3 separate regions of the Homo sapiens genome follow, and all the other regions are linked to region 2. Evidence: promoter capture Hi-C in 16 types of primary human blood cells and fetal thymus (Javierre and others, 2016). All regions are on one chromosome and are shown on one strand. The core of a region is centred on a gene start or on the middle of the fragment in contact, and the rest is flanking DNA. Distances in the headings are between cores, read along the strand shown. Region 1 overlaps GPRIN3 (GPRIN family member 3). Region 2 holds the start of CCSER1 (coiled-coil serine rich protein 1). Region 3 overlaps GPRIN3 (GPRIN family member 3).

Region 1 (4,736 bases), core at 1,998-4,497, 830 kb before region 2:
CCATTTGCAATGAGAACACTTAGCTGTAAGCTGTAATAAGGAATTGCTTAACTTTCATAAGTAAATGAATGTCTATGATTAAAACATCAATCACGGAAACACTAGTTCTATAAATAGTTTCTAGGTCCAAAGTCCATAGGCAGTTAAATAAAGACACATGTTTGTTTTTTCTTGTTTGTGTGTGTGTGTGTGCATATGTATGTGTGTGGGTGTGCACACACATGTGACATAAGAAACACATTTGGTTTTTCTTTTGAGAAACAAAGAAATGTTATTTGCTGAACATATGTGTTACCTGGTATTTTGATAAAATTTATGTTTGCCAATGTTATCACCTATGCAATGATCTATAAAATTTTAACCTAAAATATCTGTCCTTGAACTCACCCTGTGTTTTTTTAAATGTCTTATTGCTCATTTAGAAGCTTTCACATTTGCTTTTTAAGCAACACAAGATGAAATCCAAGATAGAAGACAGAAGTCCATAAAATCGTACTGAGTCCTTACATTTTGACCCACTGTGATTTGCATCACCAACAGAGTCCTGCAGTGTAGCATAGTGGTGAAGCTCATGGCCTTTGACATTGAACAACTGAATTCACACAGCTCCATTACCATCTGTGGGACTTTGGGCAAGTTATGCTATCTATTTCCTCATCTCTAGAATGGGGAATTATTAATGTGTTATTATTTAGTAGTACAAACCTCAGAGATTTCTTTAAAGGAGAAGTGGTTTTAGCAAGACGTCACTGGCAGATAAGCCTGAAGAATAAAATTTTTAAGGATTTATACATATCTGTAATCTAGCCTTCACTCATTTCCTTTGGAAAGTAGATGGATATATATGGAGACATGTATTAGGGTTCTCTTATGCTCTAGAATCAAGATGGCAAAGTGCCTCAAGTGTTTTTTTGTTTTGTTTTGTTTTGTTTTGTTTCTTGTTCATTCTTTAATGAATTTTAAACCCTCTTCCCGCATGTGTTTAGTTGGTCTTTCATTCTTTTCCACTCATCATCATTAATTCTATAATTGAGGCTCCATCTCTTTTCTTTTATTTCCCCTACACCACCAGTCTCTGCGCTCCAAGGCAAAGGAGGTTCTCCTCCCAGTCAGGGCAAATACACAGAGATGGAATCACTTACTAGGCATTTCAGAGGCATGAATTACCACTTAAACTTCCAAGGTTGAAGCCCTGGAGAGGGAGACCAATGGAGAGTGGTGAGCACCTCCTCAGAATAAAAAGATAGCCAGAAGGCATGGGATATTTCACAGAGCAGCTACATAAATAGCTGGGTATTTACAGTCCCATTGGAATGGGTACATTCCCCAATAATGATCTGACTCAAGATCATTCCCCAAGGGTGGAAGAGCTTCCTGAGAGTCTAAGCAATTATCTAAAACAGCGGCCCTTAAGCAGTCTTAAAATACACTTGTGTATCACAAACAATTTATGAGCAATGATAAAGTACCAATGACAGCAAATTATTTATTAAAGTATAATTTAGAGCTGTTTTCTCTAATGAATTATATTAACCTCAAAAATCAAGTTATTTCTATAATAATGTCACTCTCACTCATTTCACTGGCATGTGTGGATATTTTCTTAAATAGGAAAAAAATGGAAATGAAGTTACACTGAGGTTCTGGTATCCTCATGAGAAAGAAATTTCTCGTAGTACACATACCAGCAGACTCTTGTAAGAATTCTACATCTTATATCTGTTCCGTTTTTGTCACTTCTGCTACCCTCTGCTTCTTAGTTGTTTTTAGGAGAACTAAGTCAAAAATGCATGTGTCTGTGACTTTATTTTCTACAACATTAAGGAAGTGGAGTATGGGAAAGACATACAGTTTTCAAGTTAGCCTGGCAGGGAGGAAAGGAACCCAGGTGTGGCAAGCAGGTGGTGAAGCTGTGAAGAGGAACGGAAATGAAGCTGAATTGCTCAGCATACAGGAAGGAAGAAAGAGGTACAGGGCTGCTTGGTTAGGACAGAGGAGGGACCCAGGTTGTTAGGCTACCAGGGGAATTCTCTGAGATCATGACCAGGAAAAGAGCCCATTCTAATTTTGTTGAACTATATTTATTACTAAGCTTATTCCCGTTGTCTGGGAATTATTTGAGAGTTCAGACTATGTATTATTCAATTTTGAGTCCCTAGCACACAAAACAGGGTTTTACATACATACATATATATATATGTATATATATATATCTCAAGTGCTCGATACAGATTTATTAAATGATCCAAAGAATTCACCTTTCTTAAACCAGGGCCTTCTGCCAACTCCATTTCACATTCTATCTCTCACCTCCTAAATAAATTCCTATTTCCAGTTGGAGGAAAGCTTTGATTCAATTTGCAAAGTAGAAGGAGCTGACATGCTCTCAATCCAGTCCAGCTCAGGTTATTAACTTTTCCCCTCCCTCTCGGAGGCTCAGATTTCATCACTCAAAAGCCACAAACCCCAGAGGGAGGATTTTTTAAAAACCTATCATTATAGTTCTAAACATCAAAATAGCCACCAGGGGAATAGCAGAACAGTTTCTTCGTAAAAGAGCATAAACATTTCAGTGAACTAAATTTGTGTTTTAAATGGCACTTTCAGAAAAATAACTTTATCTCTAAAGACTTTTAACACCTATGGTCTTTTATATATTATCAACCCATTTCAGGTGACAGGACGCTTGATACTTAAACACAGCCACCATTCTATAAGGAAATGCCACTCTCTTCAAAGAAAGCATAGAGTCAATGTGGCACTGTGTCCTCTGTTAGTTTCGATTGGTACTATTCTCGGCACTGTCTTCTCGGAGTGAAGCTGTTGAAACACCGACACTTTAGGATTAATAATTAGATGAGGGGATGTTTTTAGAAATAAAGTAGGAGGCACGAAGTGGGGGTGGTATGCAGCAAGTGTGCATGAGGAAGGAAAGTGGCAGGAGAAGTTGACAAGGCATGAGAGATTTCAGAGCGCTATGAAGACAGCTTTCCCTACCGAAGAGATCTGTCTGAGTTTTCCATCTTGTTGCCCCAAAAGGGCATTTGTCTTTATTTGCAACATGAATAAATCAACCCTGATGCAGTCACCTCATTTTTTAGCCATAGTAACGGAGCAGTTCTACACAATCAAGTGGCCAGACTGTGCAGTGATCTGCCTAGCCTCAGAGAGGGGTTGCAAACACAGCCTACTGTAATCATTAACTGAGCATTTCCAGGCTATACAGAAACACAAGCTGGGATACGAGTTGATACTACTCCTGAAAGTTTATCTCAACTGCCAGGCCTGCTAAATAAAATGCAGCATCACTTGAAAGATTGAGATACACTCTGGACTTTCAGGAAGCTATGCAAGTTTGGTCTATGTGTAAAAAGTTATACATAAGATAAAGATATGGTGCATTTAAAAATACATAAAGCAATCCAATGTGAGATCTCAGTCATTGGTCTTTAAGGTAAAGAAAAAATAAATTACATTATTGTTAAAACTGCTAATATTTTTCATTTGCCACTTGTCGTACAGTAAAAAGCAAGCAAGTACACAGATGAAAAACTCCGTTATTCTTTAACAGACTACGTTAACTCAATTTTTATTCATTAAACTTTCACAGACTCTACAAATTTTGATACTGCAAAATTTTTAGACCCTCACCATGGTTAATGGGGGTTAACTATATTTGGCGCCATCACCTTTCTGCTTTGTAGACACATCAATTTCATGAGTACAGTCATAGCATTTTGGAGCTCAATGGTACTTAGGGAACACCTAAGTAGTCCAGACTTTACAGACTCAATACCTACAGGTTTGGGGTAGTAACACAACTAAGTGAAGCTGTTGGGCACAAGTGACTTATATAAATGCTCAATGTCAGTGAGACATTGAGAAGTGGGGACTACAGCGAAGTAATGAAGTAGCATATATATTGCTGTTCAGCTCCAGCCTAGAGAATGTGGGTGAGGGCTTCATTTTTTATAATAGATCTGATGTTTAAACACTGGCTTAATTAAAAAATAAATACCTGGAGGCCACAGTTTTCCTGCTAGGCCCACAGACTGCCAGTTTTCAATTCTGATTTGGTACATATATCTCCAAATCTGAGGCCCAGACAGGTAAAGTGAAGAGTACCAGGTCTCTCAGATGCTCACAGCAAAGCTTTCTTCTGCTCTGAGAATCCACTTGGGTAGACAATCCCTCATATGAAAGGAGACTGTAAGTGCATTTTCACTCACTTAATCAGAGCTCAGCCCCTTACCCTGACAATGATAGACTTCTGCTCTCTGACTGTTTTCAGAACATGTTCGACATGAAAACAAGAACAATCACCCATACCCACTTTGTCATAAGCAATTTTTACCCAACCAAGGATGCAGGTGAAAATGAACATGCATTTACTAACTTTAGCTCTGACTAAAATTTTTACTGGAATTTAAAATTCTTAATTTTAATTAACAATTACAATTTTAGCTGCTTCATTTTTACCTGCATTTTTCAAGGAGAAATACCTTATAGAAAAATTCAAAGAAAGGCATGCTTAATTAACAATATGACTAAGTATAAATTTAAGAATCATGCTATGTATAAAATAAATTAGAAACAGGTCTTAAGAATTACAAAAGTTTTGCTGCAATCATGGAGCTTGAAACCATGCTTTGAGTGGATTGAGAAACTAATTTAGAGTGAAGGAATGAGCATTTCAAAGCGATGTAATGGCAAAGGCAAAGATCAAACTCCAAGAA
Region 2 (4,611 bases), core at 1,198-3,697:
TCAGTAATTATGAATGGAACTGAGAGTGTAAAAATTACTATCATTTGTGGTTACCAAAAATGCCCTTGAAATATCTGGTCTAATATATAATTTTGAAGTATGCAATATACAGTCATAATCAAATTATTGTTATTAATGACAATTAAATAGAGAACCAGGACACTGAAAACACCACAAACTTGCTGAATATGATTGAGTATCATCCCTTTAGGAGGACATAACCTTTTAAAATGTCTGTTTACGGCTCTCAAACCACCTATGTATTCACTAGATGCAAATGTTCAGTAATATCTCCTCTACAAAATTTCGTTTTACAATGACACCAGGTTTCTTTCAGAAAGGACTGTGTAGGAAAGTTTTCTTTTTCCATTTATGAGTTCAAGTATGTTAAGACTTTTTAAATTGTTGACCAGCCCTAAAAAACATTAACATTTCATAAATCGCTCTTGCATTGTAAAAAGAAGGAGGGAGGTAGAAGAAAAATGCCAAAGGATTGTAGGTCAGCTTATTTCATAAACAAAAGCTCTAAGGAAAGTCCTGAGATTTTTAAGTAAGCCAGGCCTTCTGAATGGGACATGATATGGACAGTAGAATAAGACAGATTGAGTTCCATTGACATTATTTATTCTTTGTATGATCTTAGGTTATCTACACACACTTTCAAAATTTAACTTTCTTGGTCTGTAAAATTGAGGAAATAATAATAGCTGTCCCATAGGGCACACTATCAATCCCAATATGCTTTGTTAGTCCATTCATTTTTCCAGTGCTTAATCAAAGAAGCTTTAATGGCCTATATACTTATATTATTGATATATTCACGCACCTGTCCCAACTTGCTGTCCTTTCCAATATCACTTTGTTTTTATCACACTCCTTAATATCACTTCTTTGTTAGGTCTTGATCACATGCTTAAATCATTTTTAATGTTTGCTAAACTCTGTATGAGAGATTGAAGAATTACGAGACAGGAACATCAATGTGAAAGGGTAAAATATGTGGAGAATATATAAGGTGCCAGCATATGACAAAACCCTAAAGATGTACGATGGTCACAAGCCATGGAAGAAGATAGGACAACTGAATTGTCAACCTTGCCGCCTCCTCCGTAGCCTCCTAAATCTTATCTTCCTTTTGTCTAATTTATGAAAAATGTTTCCTATAATTGTCTCCCAAAAGCAGAGTTGTCCCCATGCTGTAATATACATTGACCACTCAGATTCATTTAAAAAATACATCTTGCTTTTATTCCCAATATAACCACATTTCAGAAGTTAGATCATAGCCAGTTAGATTACACAGAGCGTGCGCACGCGCACGCGCACACACAAACACACCTTGAAAAAACTGTAGATCACTTGATTTCTGGAAGTTTTTCTCAATACCTCAGTGCACCTGATCACAACATCTTGTAATCTGGGCAGAAGGTAAGGGAGGTGATGTTAGGCGTACAAACTTAATATTGGGGATGCATTTTCTACCTAGAAATGGTCCTACATTCTACCAGAATGGGTTAAAAACAGATGCGCGCGCGCACACACACACACACACACACACAGAATTAAATGCACTACATTTGCTGTATTGCCTGCTAAAGGCATAAATATACTGGAGTGGAGATAAAGAAGGGGATGGATGGGAAAGAGTTCAGTACTTAGTGTAAACCTGAAAGGAAATGAGGCAGTGCAAGGGGAGAGAGGATCAGGGGAAAATAAATTATGTAGGCAACAGAACCATGCATCAAAAGTCTTTTCGATTTCTAAACTGGCAAATTTTCTCCAGGGGACCATCAGTCAAATGATGTCAAATTGAGCTGATTCTCTTGTAATGCCTGTATTGTGTAGGGCCTTCCTTGTAGGAACACAAGTTCCACTCTCGGACACAGTCGCAGTGCTTGCATTATCTTACAGAATTGATTGCTGCAAATGGTTCCTGGGAGGTGTGACCTGCTTAAAGGAAAGAAGCTAGGTTTCTTTTCTTGTTACTGAGGAATGAAGACACTTGTCAGGATGTGAATTGTGTGGGTGAGAAGGAAAAGCGGCGAAAGAATCTGGTAATTCCTTCCCTTACAGGAGGAAGAGAAAAAAGATAACATCGGAACCTTGGAGAGGAGAAATACAGTGCATTTATTTCCAGCATCCCCGCAGTCACTTCACGTCTCTTCAGACTTCCCCTATTCTTTAGTCTTGACCTGCCTATGCACTTGAACTCCACATAAGCACTAGGATGGACTGGGGGAAAAGGCCAGGTCAGCACGGTGGGATACTGCTTCCCCTAAAATGAAAACTCAGCAGCGGGCCAGCAGTGGGTGTGCGCGCGTCGATGCCAGAGGATGCGTGCGTGGAATCCGGCGGACGCAGTGGGCCGGGCACCGCCCTCCAAGCCGCCCCGCCCAGCCCACCACACTCCTCCTTGTATAAAGGCCGCGCTTGGGCCCGCCCTCCTCACAGCCCCGGAGCGCGGCCTGCCGGGGAGGTGGATCTCGCGCTCCCCACACAGTCACACTCCGCGCACTCACACACTTGGAAGCGCCTCCCCACGTCCCTCCCCTGCCCTCCTCTTGCTCTGCTCTTCTCTCCCTCACCACAAATAGTCGCCGACCTACTGCCAATCCGCCTCTCCTCTCTCTCTCTCTCTGTCTCAACATGACTGACTGGGAAGCGGTGGCTCGGGCAGAGCAGCTCCGCTGGCGCAGGCAGGAGGAGCAGGAGGATTATTAAATAACGCAGCTGGACTCTGTGCAACTGGGAGTGGAGAGGAGCCCAACAGCCGAGAAGGGGAGGGAGGGCAGAGGAGGGGGACCAGGAAGGACACCCCCGTGCCCCGAAGACATAAATCCCTGAGTGCCCGGGAGGAGCCTTAACAAGCGCACGGAGCCCTCAAGGTAGTAACGCCCCTGGTGCCTCAGCGCTCAGCGGGTCGCGCGTCGCGTCGCCGCTTTGCGGGGCCGGCCGCAGGCGGACGCGGGGATGACCGCTCGGCAGGTGACCGCGCCGTGTCGGGGCCGCCTGCGAGCAGCGCGCGCCCAGGCCCGGCGTGCTCGGCGCAGAGACCTGGCCTTGCGGGCGGGGTGGGAAGGAGGCGGGCGGGCTCGCTCACCACCGGCCCGCGACTCCCAGTGCGCCGCGTGGCCATTTCCTCCACGCTGCTGCGTGGTTTGCTGCCTGCGGCCGCGGCGGCCGCTCCAGGGCGATGCGGAGCGCTGGCCAAGGCGGCGAGAGTTGGCGCAGGCTTCGGGTCGCTCCCCTTCCTCGCCACTCGCGTCCCGCAGGTAGAGGCGACCGGTCAGCGCTGGCGCCCCGGGCTGCGGGTGCTGAGGCGGGGACGGCGGCGAAGAGGGGGAAGGGGAGGAGGGGGCGGGGAGCCAGGGGCTCCCGGAGGAACCGCAGTGCGGGGCCGGGACCACCTCTTGCCTCCGCCTGCTTGTCCTCTGGCGCCAGTTTCCTGGATTGGAAGCAAGACCCTGCCCAGAGGCAGCAGTAACGGCAGCGACTTAGATTGAACCACTTGCTTTGTGGTGGAGCGTCAAGGGCCCCAGGTTGTGTGCGTGTGTGTGTGTGTGTGTGTGTGCGCGCGCGCGCGCGCTCTGGACTAACCAGTGGGTTGGTTCACCTGAGCAGAAAGTCAGCCGTAAGCTGAAACCGCATGTGGCCCCCTGGCCCCTTCGACTTTTGGCTTGTGTCCCAGGGACTCGTACACACGGTGCCAGCAAGGGGTAAGGGTGACGGAGGGATTTGTGAATGGTGCTTCTGCGTGCGTGGAGGCTGAGCCTTGCTGATGTAAAGGAGGAGGTATCCAGAGTGAGAAGAAAGGCTATTTATGGCAAAGAGTTGTGAAATTTCTTGGGGTTTCCTTTTAGTGTATCCTGAACTGCTCTCTTTCTCTCTCTCTCTCTCTCCTCTCCCTGCCTCAGAATTAGAAGCAATTATGCTTCCCCTTCCTCTCGTGGGACATGGAATATGAAATGAAGTAAAAAAAAAACTCATATTTTTACAGGTAGAAAAAAATACTTCTTAGAAGTTACAGATTCTTTGCCCTTTAATGTTTTTATGTCCTCTTCTCCACCCCTCTTACCTTTTCAGGCAGTCAGTAGGACTTACAAGTCAGAAAATACCTACTTGGTTTCAACAGCTTTCATTTCTGAAATCTTTACAGTTGAATACCTTCCTATTGAAATGTAACACACATCCTCCCTTCTCTGCCCCTCAAGGACTATTAAAAATAATGTGTACACGTTTAAAGTAAAGCTGGTTTTATTAACAGCCTTAGGGAAAACGGATAAGAGGACACCTAGGTGGGGGTCAGTTATCACTGGTTCCTTCAAAACTGGTTATTAAGGGAAGACCTAAAATACTGGTAATCTAGGCTATAATATAATTTGTCTTGGTTTCTCTTTCTGTTTGCTTTATAACAGGTACATGTTCCAGATACGTAACTTGAAACTTAAAGATGCCTTGGGACAGTGCCTGTCACGGTGCTTATAAAATGAATGTTTTCTCTTAAAAGTAGCAACCTGTACTTTTATAGAACTGTGACTGGGTTTAGTAGTAGGACAGTATCCTTAATATTGCAAACTGAAATGTCTCTAAAAGCCTGCCAAGACAATGTTT
Region 3 (4,914 bases), core at 809-3,308, 840 kb before region 2:
CCTGCATTGCTATAAAGGAATAGCTGAGACTGGGTAATTTATAAAGAAAAGAGGTTGAGTTGGCTCACAGTTCTTCAGGCTTTATGGGAAGCGTGGTGCTGGCATCCGCTATGTTTCTGGAGAGGCCTCAGGAAACTTACAGTCATGTTGGAAGGTGAAGGGGGGGGATAAGCACATCACATAGCCAGAGTAGGAGCAAGACAGAGAGCAAGGTCCCACATAGTTTCATGTTTTTTTTTTTTTAGATAGAGTCTCGCTCTTGTCACCCAGGCTGGAGTGCAATAGCGTGAACTCAGCTCACTGCAACCTCCACTTCCTGGGTTTAAGCAATTCCCCTGCCTCAGCCTTCCAAGTAGCTGGGATTACAGGCACCCGCCACCACACCTGGCTAATTTTTGTATTTTTAGTAGAGACGGGGTTTCGCCATGTTGGCCAGGCTGGTCTCGAACTCGTGACCTCGTGATCTGCCCACCTCGGCTCCCCAAAGTGCTGGGATTACAGGTGTGAGCCACCGCACCCAGCTGCCACATAGTTTTAAACAGATCTCACTTCTCACAGAGAAGTCACTCACTGTCGTGAAGACAGCACTAAGAGGATGGTACTAAACCATGCATGAGAAATCTGCCCCATGATCCAATCACCTCCCACCAGACCCCACCTCCAACACTGGGGATTACATTTCAACATGAGATTTAGGCGGGGACACAGATCCAATCTATATCAGACATGGAACAACTTATCCCTTAGAGCCACTGGAAGGAACTAACCCTGCTGACACCTTGTTCTCAGATGATTAGCCCACAGAACAAGGACAGAACACATTTCTGTTGTTTTAAGCCACCCAGTTTGTGGTATTTTGTTATGGCCACTCTAGGAAACTAAAATACCCTCTCTACTCTTTCTTGCATTGCTAATAATCTCAACACAACTCAGCATTTTCTTCTATGGGAAGCCTTCCTTGCACTTTCCCATCCCTAAACCATTCCCCCTTAATTACAAGTCTTTCCTCTGTTGTCTCATTGCATTCTAAAGTCTTTATTATAATGCATTGCTATGCAGTCATCTTTTTTTTTTTTTTTTGGTCTCTTTAGTAAGAGTACTGTAGAGAGTGAGTGGGTGCCTGGTAGTCTCAGTATCCTGCATGGTGCTGGCAAGAAGAAAAAGAAGTACAGTTATTGTTTGGTGAATGCTAACATGCCTCTAAAGAAATGTGATTTTTATTTCGTGTATAATGCATTGCCAACAAAATTACTGTAACATAAAAGAATAGCCATTTCTATTACTGAAGTTAACTATATTCACTAGCAATGATGAGAATTATGTCCATCCTATCTCAAATCATGAATTATTTGCTTTGAATTTATTTTACTGTTTTGAATAGTAGTTTATAACAAAAATCAATGTCATATGAGTATCTAAATAATAGAAATATCCTTTGTAAACAATAAGATACTGGGAGTCAGGAATGTTTCCAACATGCCTTGTTACCTTGACCCTCAAGGGGTTGTAATCTCTCACCTGCTTCAGTGGTGTGCATCTATTATTGGGATAAACTCACAGATTTATAAGCCTCATTAGGAAAGGAAGGATCCAAAGTGTGTAGAACAAGCTTGTCCTTATGCAGTCCAGGACAGCTTTGAACATAGCCCAACACAAATCTGTAAACTTTCTTAAAACATATGTGATTTTTTTGCAATTTTTTTTTTTTTTTTTTTTTAGCTGATCAGCTATTGTTAGTGTGTTTTATGTGTTGCCCAAGACAATTATTCCAGCGTGACCCAGGGAAGCCAAAAGACTGGACAACCCTGGTGTAGAATATTAATCTGACAAATCACTTGTCAGAAGTATGGGATTTTTACCCACTAAAAACTACCTCTTCGTGGCCCGAGGTGGCTCAGAGAGCTATCCCCACTTTGCTGTCATGGGAACTATGAATCACAGTCTCAGAGTCTACATCGAAGACCTCACAAATCTGTGGAAATCTGCCTAATAAAGATATAATAACTTGGACTTTTAAGAATTCACTAATTTGATGACTTGCCACACATGCGATTATGTTACCCTCAGATGGTAATGGAGGAATGTTTTTCTGAAAGTGATAAGAACACTATGCACATACGTTCAGGCCTAAAAAGACCGATTGTTATTAATATTAACAAAGATAGCCAAGGCCTTTAGTGTTTTGTTTGTAAAATCCCTTGCTTCATTGAGGGCTATGAGAGGAAGTAAAGACAGGCCTTCAGAGTAATTATTTTTCTTATTCACTCAATTCATGCAGCTGAACAATAGGCCTATGTAGCACAAACATTAAACATTACTTTTTAGGCTATCCCAAATTGTTTAACATACACAATGTGCCAGGCCTGTGGTGGGTTCTAGAGAGCCACAAAGGCTCAATTCCTGCCTTCAGAAGCTCACATCCACTGGGCAGAAAGGTGATTTCATTGCTACAGATTTCAATGGTAACACAAGAAAAGAATGACTCATTCCAACTTTTGCAATCAGGGAAAGCTTCCGGGGAACCAGTGGAGATCTGCTGCAAAACAGGGAAGGAAAAAAATACCAGGAACATAGTAAGTAATCACACAGATCATGGTACACACAAGGTGGGTGGAATCTGCCAGTCCTCACCTTCAGGAAGTTCATATCTAGTGGGGGAGGCAGAAACATAAAGGGAGACTGGACTACGGTATAATGGTGAGCCCTTTGGTAGAGCTCGGCATAGGGTGTTATGAGTGCACAATGCTGGCATATCTAAGAGAAGGCCCACCCAAGGCCTCTGAGTGTAAGCAACAGCAATGCTGCCTTGAAAACTAAGCAGGACTTCACCAGTGGGGAGGAAAGGGCATTTCAGGTGCATATGGACAAGCATGAATAGATATACAGGCAGCCTACTGGGGAAGTGGTTGAGGGTGGGGTGGGGCTGGAACAATATTTAGTTGGCATGGCTGCAGCTCCGGATGCAAGATATAGGGCTAAAGGGTGTGACAAAGTAAAACTGCGGGGGGCTTTGTAAGTGAAACTGTGAGAAGTAGGGCACTGGCAGCAGGAACTGAGGGAAGGATGGACCTAGAAATACTGAAGAGGTCAAATCAGCTGTGCCCTCTGATTGAATGCGAAGGATGAAAGAATGGAAGGATCCAAGGTTTTAAGACAAGGCAGAAAAGCAACTGTGTTGAGGTAAACGCTATGACAGATGGTATCACAGGGTACCCACCACAAGCTGGTGAGGTAAGGGCCTCAGCAGGATTCTGGAAAGGTGTGCTGGGCAGAATGCCCTGAAGGATGGGGAGTCAGCCAGGTGAAGGAATGGGTGGGTGGAAGAGGCCACTAAAGCAAATGAACGGCATGAACAGAGACAGGAGGCTGAAGACCACATGCTGGAGGACTGCCAGCCATTCAGAATTACTGTCCCTTACCTTCTGGAAACATTTCACTGTGTGAGAGGCACAGTGGTTAACAATGCCTCTAGGATCAGATTATTCAGGTTCACATCTGGTTGGCCACTTACAAGCTGTGTGGCCTCAGGCAAATTAGTTGACTCCCCAGTGCCTAAGGTTTGTAACACTTGCCACCCAGGAATGAAAATAACACCTTCCTCTAGGATTGTTGTGCATTCTTAGAAGAGAGTTTTGCACACAGGTTAGCTAGTAGTAACAGCAATAATATTAGTGATTATGGTAGTAGAATTACTTGGGCTTTCTTACTAACAGGAACTCACCACCAGGTCTACCTTCCAAGTCCACTGCTCCTTCCCTAGCTCCCTTTTCTCACCCTGAAATCGCCTTTGCAAAAATTATATCAGTGAGAATATTATGGCAGTGGGGGAGATCTGATCTAGCCAACCCAACTCCCCATTCCTTGCCTTTAGCTTTCAAGCTGCCTTAATTATTCTTGGACTTAGGCCTAGGCCTAGCTAACTTTGGAAGACATTTAGATTATAGTTTAAATGAGAATGAGACCATCAGGCTAGGGGAAGGAGAGGAGCCTGAATTCTGCTAATAGGCTGGTCACAAGATATGCAACTTCCCCAATTACTACTGCAATAACATCACCAATGTAGACTGGCCTTTTGAGATATCTTTTCAGGCCTTTTGCATGTCTGACACTGCTGGCTCCACTTGGTCCTGCCAAACTGCTCCTGTGGCCCCACAGAGGAGTGACTCAGCTCAAGGGGACAGACAGCTTTGACTCCCTATGATTTCATCTCCACCCCAACCAATCAGCAGCAAGCACCTAGCCACTCTCACCCCTTCCCCCAAACTGCCTTTGAAAAATCCCTACCCTACACAGGGCGGGGTCGGTTGGGGGGTCAGGGGGCGGGGGAGGGACAACATTAGGAGAAATACCTAATGTAAATGATGGGTGCAGCAAACCAACATGGCACATGTATACCTAGGTAACAAACCTGCATGTTGTGCACATGTACCCTAGAACTTAAAGTATAATAATTAAAAAAAAAGAAAAATCCCTAAACATATGAGCCTTTATGAGATTGATTTGAGTAATAACTTTGTCTACCATGTGGCATGGCCAGCCTCGCATCAATTAAACTTTTTCTTTACTGCAATGCCATGGTCTTTATTTGTGCAGTGGGCAGGAAGAACCCCCAGGTGGTTACAACCCCATCTACTCCACAATCATAGAATAACCAAAAGATCATGCTTTATAACATGACATTTTAATTCTGAAAATGTGTTGGACACCTCAGGCTGCATCACAAATATCTCAACTTCCTGTTCTGTCACCCAATTCACTTCTTTTTACTTTTCCCAAATTTTACTATCTCCTTTCTCCATAATTACTCCTCAAATATTCTTCTGTAAACAAACTGAAACTGACAGAGATGGGGAAAAGGCATGCAAAGTAAATCAGTGTATCCAAGAAGAACTGGCTTATGAACTGGTGTTTGGG

The links. The method cuts DNA at HindIII sites, captures the fragments that hold promoters and counts their contacts. A CHiCAGO score of 5 or more calls a contact.
Region 1: a fragment that was not itself captured here is called in contact with the fragment with the promoter of CCSER1 in region 2 in 1 of 17 cell types (total B cells); the score reaches 5.7 in total B cells.
Region 3: a contact is called between a fragment that was not itself captured here and the fragment with the promoter of CCSER1 in region 2, in 1 of 17 cell types (monocytes). The highest score is 5.6, in monocytes.

The regions. Positions count from the first base shown.
Region 1 is chr4:89,296,476-89,301,211 of GRCh38, forward strand. The region is part of intron 1 of GPRIN3 (GPRIN family member 3); the gene reads right to left. Among named protein-coding and RNA genes, the nearest start is that of GPRIN3, 9.0 kb to the right of the region's middle. The HindIII fragment of the contact is 1,806 bases long and covers 2,345-4,150 here.
Region 2 is chr4:90,124,947-90,129,557 of GRCh38, forward strand. It overlaps CCSER1 (coiled-coil serine rich protein 1), which reads left to right and starts at 2,448. Exons shown (of 11, transcript NM_001145065.2): 1 at 2,448-2,885. RefSeq lists silencers at 3,006-3,205, 3,316-3,565. The HindIII fragment of the contact is 6,776 bases long and covers 782-4,611 here.
Region 3 is chr4:89,280,899-89,285,812 of GRCh38, forward strand. The region is part of intron 1 of GPRIN3 (GPRIN family member 3); the gene reads right to left. Among named protein-coding and RNA genes, the nearest start is that of GPRIN3, 24 kb to the right of the region's middle. The HindIII fragment of the contact is 902 bases long and covers 1,608-2,509 here.